Linked DNA regions of Homo sapiens: all the other regions are linked to region 1. The links are contacts of gene promoters, found by promoter capture Hi-C in blood cells and fetal thymus (Javierre and others, 2016). All regions are on one chromosome and are shown on one strand. Each heading gives the region's core, a stretch centred on a gene start or on the middle of the fragment in contact. The rest is flanking DNA. Distances are from core to core; before and after follow the strand shown. Region 1 holds the start of FXYD6 (FXYD domain containing ion transport regulator 6). Region 2 overlaps TMPRSS4 (transmembrane serine protease 4). Region 3 overlaps SMIM35 (small integral membrane protein 35). Region 4 overlaps TMPRSS4 (transmembrane serine protease 4).

What was found. Contacts are between HindIII fragments. The CHiCAGO score rates a contact against its expected background, and 5 or more counts as called.
Region 2: a fragment that was not itself captured here is called in contact with the fragment with the promoter of FXYD6 in region 1 in 1 of 17 cell types (naive CD8 T cells); the score reaches 5.2 in naive CD8 T cells.
Region 3: a fragment that was not itself captured here is called in contact with the fragment with the promoter of FXYD6 in region 1 in 4 of 17 cell types (total CD4 T cells, activated CD4 T cells, naive CD8 T cells and 1 more); the score reaches 6.8 in total CD4 T cells.
Region 4: a contact is called between a fragment that was not itself captured here and the fragment with the promoter of FXYD6 in region 1, in 9 of 17 cell types (activated CD4 T cells, total CD4 T cells, total CD8 T cells and 6 more). The highest score is 8.1, in activated CD4 T cells.

What each region holds. Positions count from the first base shown.
Region 1 is chr11:117,875,295-117,877,994 of GRCh38, reverse strand. It overlaps FXYD6 (FXYD domain containing ion transport regulator 6), which reads left to right and starts at 1,337. Exons shown (of 8, transcript NM_022003.4): 1 at 1,337-1,403. FXYD6-FXYD2 (FXYD6-FXYD2 readthrough) reads left to right here and starts at 1,337. Exons shown (of 10, transcript NM_001243598.4): 1 at 1,337-1,403. The HindIII fragment of the contact is 14,206 bases long and covers 1-2,700 here.
Region 2 is chr11:118,116,409-118,119,108 of GRCh38, reverse strand. TMPRSS4 (transmembrane serine protease 4) reads right to left here. Exons shown (of 13, transcript NM_019894.4): 12 at 1,655-1,804; 13 at 1-1,207. The coding sequence ends at 1,196. Among named protein-coding and RNA genes, the nearest start is that of SMIM35, 31 kb to the right of the region's middle. The HindIII fragment of the contact is 2,433 bases long and covers 101-2,533 here.
Region 3 is chr11:118,056,171-118,058,888 of GRCh38, reverse strand. The region is part of intron 1 of SMIM35 (small integral membrane protein 35); the gene reads left to right. Among named protein-coding and RNA genes, the nearest start is that of TMPRSS4, 20 kb to the left of the region's middle. The HindIII fragment of the contact is 7,499 bases long and covers 1-2,718 here.
Region 4 is chr11:118,090,132-118,092,831 of GRCh38, reverse strand. All of the region lies in intron 1 of TMPRSS4 (transmembrane serine protease 4), which reads right to left. It overlaps LOC105369517 (a long non-coding RNA gene), which reads left to right. Exons shown (of 4, transcript XR_007062904.1): 4 at 298-545. Among named protein-coding and RNA genes, the nearest start is that of SMIM35, 4.5 kb to the right of the region's middle. The HindIII fragment of the contact is 239 bases long and covers 1,290-1,528 here.

The DNA of each region.
Region 1 (2,700 bases), core at 88-2,587:
AGTTCATGTATATTTCCTGCCTTGGGGTTTTGAGACCTGACCTTTTATTAAAATAATTAGATCATCTAGGGCAGAGCTGGAAGAGACCTCAGGATCATCTAGTCCATCTCCCTATTTTCCCAAATGAGAAAACAGGCCCAGAACTGAGGGCAGCAGAGGCAGGGCTAGGTTTCTTCCTAGCAGTACCCATCATCCCCGGCTTGGGGTTTGTAAGGAACTCTCCGTGGCCCTACCTAGGCTTGGACAATCACAGCCTTTCTCAGTAGCTCCTCCCTCCACCCGGCTCGGCCATACACACACCTTGACTGAGGCTGGACAGCCTCCATCTCAGCATGGCTCCTGGCTACTGACACTTGTGCCTGGCCTCTGCCCCTTCCTACAAGCTCTGCCCCTAATAGTAAGAGCCAATTTCTTGAGCACTCACTATGAGCTAAGCCTCCCATGGGGTCAGTCTCTAATCACCATTTTCCCACGTGAGGAAATAGACTCAGGAGCTGAGTGCAGAGATATGCTCCAAGTCGCGTCACAGGCAGGGTTGCCGAGCCAGGATTTATTTACATCTTCACATTCAAAGTTCGTCATCATGAATTTTGACTCTTGGGGACTGGGCTGAGGACGGGGTGGTACTGCTCCTGGCAGGGCCAGAGGTGGATGGGGCTTGAAAAGGGGGTTCAAGGCAGCAGATCTATGGTTCAGGTAAGGACCATCCCCCCAGCTCCCCACCTGGCTCTAGCTGAAAATGACAACTACAACTGGAGCTGGCTCCTGCGCCCACGACACAGCCATTCATGCTTTTGGTGCACATTCCCCTTAATTACCAAGGCTCCCAATTAACGTGGGCTGCTGTGTCTGGTGCTGGGTTATTTTCTCCTATTTTTCCGTTCCTCGGGGTTTACTATTGCAGAGAGACACCAGGTCTGTCATTGTGCCTGTCTTGCTCCCTTCCCACCCTAACCAGAGGGAAACCGAAAAGCAACAGCTGATGGCAAATCCGCTCCGGCGCTTGCACGCCTCCTCGGCGGCAGTCTCCTGTTGCTTCTCGGAGCTTGACTGCCCTTTGGAAAAATCTCTCCGCCCCTCGAGAGGAGAGAGGAGCAGAGGACGCGCGCGAGCACAGAGCGGGAGGACGGACAGGGAGAGGAGGAGAGGGGGTCTGCGCGCGGCCGCTACCCAGAAGCCAGCGGACGGCAGCACGGAGTGGGCTGTCCCCGAGCCCAGCCCCGAGCGAGCCCCCCCCCCGCCCCCGCAGGACGCGCCTCCCAGCCAGCCCGACTCCTAGGAGGAGGGGAGGCGGGAAAGCAGCTCAAGCCTCACCCACCGCCCTGCCCCCAGCCCCGCCACTCCCAGGCTCCTCGGGACTCGGCGGGTCCTCCTGGGAGTCTCGGAGGGGACCGGCTGTGCAGGTAGGCGGCTGGGGAGGTGGGCAAAGTTGGCTCCTTTTTCCGAGGAGGGGCGAGGCTCGGTGGGGACCGATCTCTGGAGCGCCGGGAGCGCCGGGTTTTGTGTGTTCAGTGGGTGTGTGCGGTCCTCCGCGGTCAGCTGCGCCGCGGTCCCCGCCTGGGCAGCGGGAAACCGGGCTGGGGATGTAAACAAGGAGATCGGCGTCGGAAGAGAGAGGAGCCTCTAGGGGAGGCAGGCTGTGGCGCTGGGGGTGACGCTGGTGGCTGGGAATTGCTCTCGGTGCTGCCTTGAGCTTGGGGTCAGGGTTTTCAGGAGAAGGGGAAAGGGCTGCGCCCACCCTTTATCCATGAGGAGTTTTCCCTTTGTTACTTGGAAGCTGTGGACACTTGGTGGAGCGTGGGGAATTACGGACGAGGGCGTGTGGCTGGGTGTGAGTGTGGACTTATGAGCGACACAAAATGGAACTTGCTGGTTTGGTGCTTGGGGAAGGTGGGGCTGGGCAGTGGGCACAGGATGGGGGCGCAGGGAAAGAAGGATTCTAGCGCTCGGGGATTCATGAGAGTGCATCATTTTTTCCCTCCTTCTTGTCTTATCCATCCAATCCTGTTTCCTTTCCGGGGGGCCCTGGGGTCCGCCATTGCCCCCTTTCCCCAGCAGGGCTGGCCCTGGCAGAGCCTCCCCTATTGTGTCTCCCGGGCTTCCGTGGAGAGTTGGGTGTGCAGCCTGGAGCTCCCAGCGCTGGCTTCTGGCTCTTACAAGTGGTGGCTGGTAGAGGAGGCACCCGAGGGTGGGAGCTGGGAGCAGCCTCGCTGGAAACATGGGTCTGCCGCGTCACCTGCTGCAAGCCTGCACGCTCGCGGGACCGTGGCTACTGGAGGCTTCTCCCCACCAGTGTGCTCTCTGCCACTACTTCCTTTGTCTCTGTGGCTTCGTGCTGTCTGGCTGGGCTAAGATTTCCAGCTTTGAAGATGGATCAGTGGGCATCTCAGGCCCTCTCTGAAAGGAGCCCCCTTTGGGGATCCAGCCACCCTCATATTATGGATGTGTATGTCTACGTCCGCAACTTAGCCTTTTGCACGTGACTTGCCTGGTCGTTGCCATGGAAACTCCTCCATTTCTCAGCCTCCCTCTTTCTCCTGCCCATTCCTCACCTCCATATCTCCTCCCCTCCCCCCAGTATGGTTGCCTAGATACTGGTTATCCCTGGCTAGGAGACCTAGATATCTGGCTCCTACACCCAATTGCAGTGGCCCCTTACTCACACCACCCACTTCACACACACTGCACATCACCAACACC
Region 2 (2,700 bases), core at 68-2,567, 240 kb before region 1:
AATTCTGTTGTTTCCTAAGAACCTAGTACAGTATGAACAAGTATATTTCATCTAGGATCTGACTTAACTATAGCAAGACAGTCCTCAGAAAACCCAAGCTTTCATACAGATGCCAAAAAAGTCCATGGGGTTTAATTCTTTGACCATTTTGAGTGCAGGGACTTATTCATGCTTACATCCTCACAACTCAGCTTGGGGACTGCCTCACACCTGGCAGCTGATCCTTTTTGTTTTTTAAATGTAAGAAGCCACACTGAGGGCTCTCCAGGCGGAAAAAGTTAGGACACAGGACCAGCATTTCTTTCCAGCCACTTGTGGATCCCTGATTGAATGTCACCCTTGACTGCCTAACTCATCTCTTTCCCAAGTCATAGGTTATCCCTGGCTCCTGGCTGATTATCACAGGCAGGGAGGGAGGGAAAGAGGCAAAGGGAGAAGGCCCTGTGTGGGACTCAAACTTGCTCACCCTGGTTTCTGTAATCTGCAGCTCACTCTTGCTGCCACTCAGCAGATCTGGTCTCCCTAACTCTTTTTTCCCCTGCCTCTACTTTGAGACTCAATTGCTTCCCCAGGACTTCTTTTCTCCCCAAGCCAAAGAATGAAAGTTCAATCATCCCAGCTCAGTTCTTATCAAGCATTCCAGCTAGCCTATGCCAGAGATGTTACACAGCTCTTTAATAATAGTGGCCATAGCTGTAATAACAATGACAACAGTAGGTAACGGTAGTCATACCAACAGTAGGGCAGTGCATTTTATATTACAACTGGTTTCTTGCTCTAGTAGGCTTGGGGATGGGTGAAGACGGACAGGGCTGGCGCAGACCCTTTCCTTCTCCTCTCCAGCCCACAGTGATCTGGGCTTTTACAAGACAGCCTGCTTCCATTCAGTAGTGTGGGAAAGTTCCTTCTTGGCTTAGCAATACCCCTGAGACCTTGTTCAGTGGGCTGTGTCTCTCCCTGGGATGCTGGGAGCACCAAGTGTGGCCGAGCTAGGGCTGCTGACTTCCTCTGGGCGCCTCTGGGCTGCGAGGGTCTCTTATAGGAATTGAGGCCCTTTGCTGCTCCAAGAAATGCTGAGGCTGTGGGCAGAGGGGTGTACCCAAGGGGACTCTTGCTCTGTGTCTGACTTTGGGGGATCCCCAGGTGGGCAGGGCAGGAAGGAAGCGGCTCCCAGCACTGCAAAGGGGCAGCAGCATTACAGCTCAGCCTAGAATAAGAGAGACCGATGAAGAGAAAGTCAGATTATCTGAAACTGGACAAAGTGGTGACATGTGTAACGTGAGTCTTCCTTTTCTGAAACACTTTGCTTCTCTCCCTACCCTGCAGAGGGCCAGGAGGTCTCATGAGCCTTTCCACTCTCTTCCTTATCAGAATCTTCTCTCTAGAAAGGATCTGATAGTCTCATTCTGTCAGAAAAGAGAAAGAAAGGCTTGGTGTGTTCTATTCCCTAAGGTATTTGCATTTATCAGAAATCTCTGACCTAAGGAATTTCAGCCTTAATAGTGCAATCTCAGGCTGTCCCTTGCTTGGAGGGAAAGTTATTTGGGATGTAAAGAGTTGTCAGAACCATTTAAATCAAACCTGAGGATGGATTGGCACCCCCCAGGTAGAGGACTGGAGGGAAGGCACAGTGGGTAGGGCAAAGGTACCTTACCTTCCAGACATTGTAGATCCAGTTGAGATAGGCTGAGACCTTGGTGTATACTCCTGGGGTGCTCGGGCCCCCGCAGCCATAGCCCCAACTAACGATGCCCACCACATGCCACTGGTCAGATTGGTACATCAGGGGCCCACCACTGTCACCCTGTGAGAGACCAGAACAGAGACTGCTGGGGAGGGCAGGTGAGGTGGGGGGGCTTCTCCTTCTCTGCTCCCTGAACTGGCCTATCTGTTCCCCTGCACTCCCTGCTGCTCTCCGATATTCCACCCTCACCCTCTTTGCTCATTAGCACCCTAGAATGGTCTTCTCTTCTGGGGCAGAAAGGCTTGTCTGTGGACAAGTAAGTTGCAAGCATGCCGTTAGCCTTCTCTCAGAGATTCACAACTCACATTAGCAAATTAAAGGCTCTGAGTGATGTCTTAAAAAAGCCTGGTTGTTGGCCAGGAGCGGTGGCTCACACCTGTAATCCCAGCACCTTGGGAGGCTGAGGCGGGTGAATCACTTGAGGTCAGGAGTTCAAGACCAGCCTGGCCAACATGGTGAAACCCGTCTCTACTACAAATACAAAAATTAGCTGGGCATAGTGGCAGGCACCTGTAATCCCAGCTACTCAGGAGGCTGAGGTGGAGAATCATTCGAACCCAGAGGCGGAGGCTGCAGTGAGCCGAGATCAAACCACTTCACTCTAGCCTGGGCAACAGAGTGAGACTCAGTCTCAAAAAAAAAAAAAAAAGCCTGGTTATCATTGTTTAACCTAGTCGTTCCAAAATTTGTGTAATCACTTATAGAGTGCCTATTTTGTGCCAGGTAGTGTTCTAAGCAATTGGGATCCAACTGATGAAAAAAAACAAAGATCCCTGCCCTCAGAAAGCTTAGGATCAAATGGGGTGAGAGACAGTGAACAAGCAAATAACAAAACAAGAAAATGCCAGATAGTGAAAAGTGCACTTATCTGGGAGTCCTTATCAGCTGTTTTAGCCCCTGGGGCTTCCTCCCTCTGAACCCAAAACTATAGCTTAAATGTCTGTTTAATGCCCCCC
Region 3 (2,718 bases), core at 146-2,645, 180 kb before region 1:
AGCAAAGCCTCAGAAGCACTTGCTGCTTTAGGGATAGGAAGGTGGGGAGAGGCTCTGAAGCTGTGGCTTCCTGTTCTGCAGAAGGACAGCTCCCACCCCATTCCTTCCCCAGGCCCCCCGAGCTGGGCTCTTGGTCATCTCCCAGAGCAGTTTGGCCTGGAGGCAGGACGTGCTCTGCGCCGCAGCCCTCGGGTCCAGATGGGTGCCCTGGGTTTTTGGTTCCCAGTCTGCACTGCCCCTCCTTTGATAGAGAGGCACCTGCCCTGAGTTCCCTGAGGTTCTGATTTTTCTCTTGTGCTTACAACTGGATTTCTGGTTTCGCTTCTACTCCAAGCCTGGTCCCAGGCACGTGCCTCTCACCCTGTGGTTTCGCACCCCATTCCTCGCCCCGTCATTTCTTCTTGTGCCCAGGCTGCAGCTGCTTGCTGGTCCCTCGTCCAAAGCTGCCCACCTGCCCAGGCCTGCGCCCCTCCCGCCTTGGGTCCATGTGCAGCTCTAGCCCCTTCCCCACACTCCTGGCCCTGGGGTGAATACTGAACCTGAGACTGGGATAGGAGGAGAGAAAGCTCAGTGCAAGGAGGGGTGAGCCCAGGAAGAGGAGACAGCCAATTACCGTGGGGGCTGCAGGGAAGTCCTGAGAGGTGTGTGGCAGCCAATGCATGCTCCGCTTCAGGGACCCTGCTCTCCTGGCCCAGCAGAACAGTCCCACAACAGGGTGACCAGCCCCCAGGCCACGGGGACCTGAGACAAATTTTTAAAACAATTACAAAACTTGCTCTAATTAGGCAGGACAATTAATTAGCTGTCAGTATGACCCTATGTCAACTAGGTCACAGGGTCAACAGAGTTTAATCCCCTGCCTGCGGTTACCCTACCCTGCAGCCAGGTATCAAATTATAGGCTTGGATGAACTGGAGATGAATATCATCGTTTACTTTGAACGATAATGTCTGTTTGTGTTTCATTCCACAAAAATTGCCTCTTGGCATCATCAAGCTCAGTCTCTGGTCAGTCATCCTCCAGTCCTGCGCTGCCATCCTTCCAGCCTTTCCACCCTCGTGCCTGCATTCCGCCTGCTGTCTGCCTCATAAAGAATCCCAGCTCCCGACACCTCCAATTTCTCTCATCACACCTCCGATTTCTCTCATTTCATCAGCTCCTTCCTGGCTTTGCTTTCAGCCTCCGAGGCGAATCCCCTCAACATACCACTCACTTGCAAATATAATACCTTCATCCTTGTTCTTCTCCCACACCTGGCCAGCAACACTGCAGCCCTGGGGCAGGCCAGCCATCCACCCACATCACCCCTGCACCTGGGTGCTGAAAAGTCCTTTGGCCACAGAGCAGTGACCACAGCAACGGCACTGCCTCCAGCGCCCAGCGGAGTCTCCCACCCCCAGCAGTGTGTCATCTAGATGCCCACGGTCAGTTCTTTCCCCACAGTGGCTCTGTTCATGTTTCAGAGTCCTCTTCAAGGTCCCCATCAGGACTCCCCTCCCCCAATGCTCTCATCAGATGCTCTGACCTCCTACTGCACAGAGGAAGCAGAGATCCTCAGATAGGAATGCCTCATGTCTTGCCTCTCCTTATCCTTCCCACTCCCATACACATAACTACACCCAGACCCTTCCTGAGTGCACTTTGGTTTCCAGGAAGGTTTGTCTCTATCCCTTCAAAGCCTTCTGAACTCTATTCCTCCTTCTTAAGAGAGCACCAGTTGGCAGTTCCTTCTGCGCCTTCAGTGTCGCCCTTTCTCCAGCAGGTAGCTATGCCCACATCTCCCTTCTTCCAATGCACCGCTTTCCCTTGAGGCTTCCGGCTGCTCTCGCCCTGTGGCCAGACCTTCTTCCTTCCCCTCACCACTCAGCTTGGGGAGTGAGCGGCCAACCTTTGTCACCTCCAGTTCTCATGGAAATGTGTGGCCTGGCTATTTTTCTCCTTTCTTCACCACCTCCTTGCACCTCCATCCACTCTACACCCCTCGGTGGTCTGGCCTCTGCTCCCTTCATTTCACTGGAACTGTGTTTGCAGAGGCCACTGATGACCTCCGTTGCTACTTCTGCAAATGGTGTTAAATGATCTCGCTTGCCTTCTCTGCAGAATTGGCCTGTCTTCCTGGAGCCTTTCTCACACCGTGATTGTCCTTCCCTGTCTGGATCTTCTCCGTCATCTCCACTTTGTATGTTGGTGTTCCCGAGGGGTTCCTCTGTGGCCCTCTCTTTTTCTTGCTTTTATTCTCCTCCTGGGGATTTCATCCCCTTCTGCGATTACACCTATCACCTGGGTGCTGATATCTCCCAAATTCAGCTTTCTGGTCCAGGGGACCCTCCTGAGCTCTAAACCTACATCTCTATTGCCCCATGGACATCTCCTCGTGGGGTCTGGCAGGTACCTTGAGCTCAACAGGACGATGGAACTGCCTTCCTGCATGTCCCCATTTTGATCAGTGGCATTGCCATCCACCCTGTTGCCTAATCAACACCCAGGAGTCACCAGGCCTCCCCTCTCTCCCTAACTTACTACCTCCAATTGATCCCCAGTTCTGCTGACCCTCCCTTCCTGATGTCCTATCCACCTCTCCCCTGTCCCTTGCCCTGGGTCAGGCTCCCATCATCTCTCCAGGATGACCCTTCTGGCTGCCTGGAGGGCCGCCTTAGCCTGGGCTCGCTACTCCCAGCATGTCCCAACCCTGGCCCAAGTGAGCCTCTCAGGGGCCAA
Region 4 (2,700 bases), core at 160-2,659, 210 kb before region 1:
GATGACTGAGACAGTGAAAGAGATCTAACTTAGCGACTCCATCTTGCTTCTAACCTCCAAACTGTCCTTGTTCATTCCTAGGGGTAGGCAGAACTAACTTTGGGAGAAACTTAGTTTATAGTTTAAACAAAGTTGGTAACAGCTCTTTCCCAGAGCAGACTGCCTTCTTGTCTGGGGACTAGACTAACGTTAGCCCCAAGATTAGAAATTATGGTTTAGGAGTCATGCAGCTGGAGGTTACAAGATTCTGACCCTCCCCAAACTGCTTCTAAGATCAGGGCTTGAGATATTTTGCAGACCCTGCACCTGACGGATCAGCTGGCACCACCCAGATCAATAAACTGCCTCATCTGATCTGGCGGCCCCCGCCCAGGAACTGACTGAGCGCAAGAAGACAGCTCCAACTCTATATGATTTCATCCCTGACCAATCAGCATTCCTGGCTCACTGGCTTCCCCCCACCCACCAAGTTATCCTTAAAAACTCTGCTCCCTGAATGCTTGGGGAGATTGATTTGAGTACTAATAAAACTCCAGTCTCCCACACAGCTGGCTCTGCGTGAATTACTCTTTCTCTATTTCAATTCCCCTGTCTTGATGAATTGGTTTTGTCTAGGCAGCGGGCAAGGTGAACCCCTTGGGCGGTTACACCATCCTCTGCACTTCTGTAGCATTTGGTACAGGTGTTTATCACAGGGCTTCTCTCATAGGGTGGTCAGCGTTTCCTTTCCTTTTTTCTTTCTTTTTGGTTGCTTTTTTAAATTTAACATTTTATTTTTAATTAGCCACTCTTTCTCATTGCCTTTGTACCCTTGCTGTTTAGCACCAGGCTAGTACCTAGTAAAAACTTAATAAATGACTGTGAACTGGACTGAACTTTGAGCTCTGCATTGTAGTTCATTCCCGGCCGTCTCTCCTCCACCATCACCAGGGCTGGATAGAGCAGACTCTTTCCAGGCTGAAGATGAGACCCAATCGGACGACTCTGCATTGTTGCAGCTAGAGTCAAGTTAGGATAACGTCAACAGTAATTCACACCCAACTGGCATGTAACAGTTTACAAAGTCCTTTCATCTAACTCTTGTCTAGTCAAGTCGATATCAATTGTCTGCCAACCAGGATGGGCAGCATTAAAGAATTAATTATTAAACTAAACAAATGCTTGTAAAGCATCTACATTGTACCAGGCACTACTCCAGGAGGATTCAAAGACAGATCAAGAAATCATCCCAGCAAGATGGGGAAAATAGTGCCCAAAGAAGACAGCCGAGGGTCTGTCCCCAAGAAGCTTGTTTCTTGGTGGAGAGGAGGGCTAGGGGAAGGGGGAGGACAGGCCATAAACAGATAAACCAGAAAAGATCAGAGAGGGGTAGGTGCTATGCAGGGAGTAATCCAGGGTGAGAGGAGACAGCGCCTGGATGCAGACTGAGAATGGGAGCTCTAGGGAGGGGCTCAGGATGGTTACGGAGGATCTTGCTGGTCTCCCTAGAGGAGGTGACAAGAAGGAGCCAAGTGGGAAGGAACAAGCTTGGGGGGTTGGAGGAACTGAATAGAGATGGGCATGGCTGGAGCAAGGCAAGGGCATAAGGAGAGAGGAGGTTGGTGGTAAAAAGACGCCAAATGTGTTTGGAAGATACAAACAATAGGCCTCGCCGATGGATTGGGTGTGCTTGGGTTTTAGTTACGTGGGTGAGAGGGTGCTTGCTGAGCTGTGGGAGGCTATAAGAGTGGTTGGTGGAGCAGGGAAGTGGGCCCTTTCCTGTCAATTCATTCTTTTCCACTGAGTCTACCTGTGCATGCATGCCTGCATTCATTGAGGTAGGTAGGGCAAGTTTCTTTTGTTTATTGTTAATTTAACAAATATTGACTATACAACTTTGATGGACCCGGAATAGTGCTAGAAGCTGAGGCACAAAGGAGGCTTATATTCTGCACTTTCTGGGGCCTTGGATTCCTCATCACTGAACTGAACAGTGGCTAATTTTGTGTGTGTGTGTGTGTGTGTGTGTGTTTGTGTGTGTGTGTGTGACAGAGTGAGAGAGAAAGAAAGAGAGAGAGACAGAGTCTCATTCTGTCGCCCAGGCTGAAGTGCAATGTTGTGATTTCAGCTCACTGCAGCCTCCACCTCCTGCGCTCAAGGGCTCCTCCCACCTCAGTCTCCTGAGTAGCTGGGACTACAGGCATGCACCATCACGCCCAGCTATTTTTTTTTTTTTTTCGTAGAGATGAGGTATCACTGTATTGCCCAGGCTGGTCTCGAACTCCTGGACTCAAATGATCTGCCCACCGCAGCCTCCCAAAGTTCTGGGATTACAGGTGTGAGCCACAATGCCTGGCTCTTAATATGTTTTCAATTGCTATTCACTGAGTAGTAGTTGTGGAAAAAAATTCTATCCCTGTTTGAAACCAAAAGAGAGAAAGAAAAAATAAACTAAAGCAAAACCGTAAGCTAGAATGACAGGGACTGTGACTATCTTGTTAACTGTGATATCCCTGATGTCTCCTACAATGCACAGTACATAATGAGTATTGAAAAAATATTTGTTGAATGAAAGAATTAATGAAAATATCTCAGTTTGAGGACTCAGCCTCAGCTCAGTCTTTACGAACCTGACTGGTATATTCACACAGTGACATATTAGGCTGCAGTCAAAACAAATGAACTGTAGTGACACAAAATAATATGGATGGGGCCAGGTAC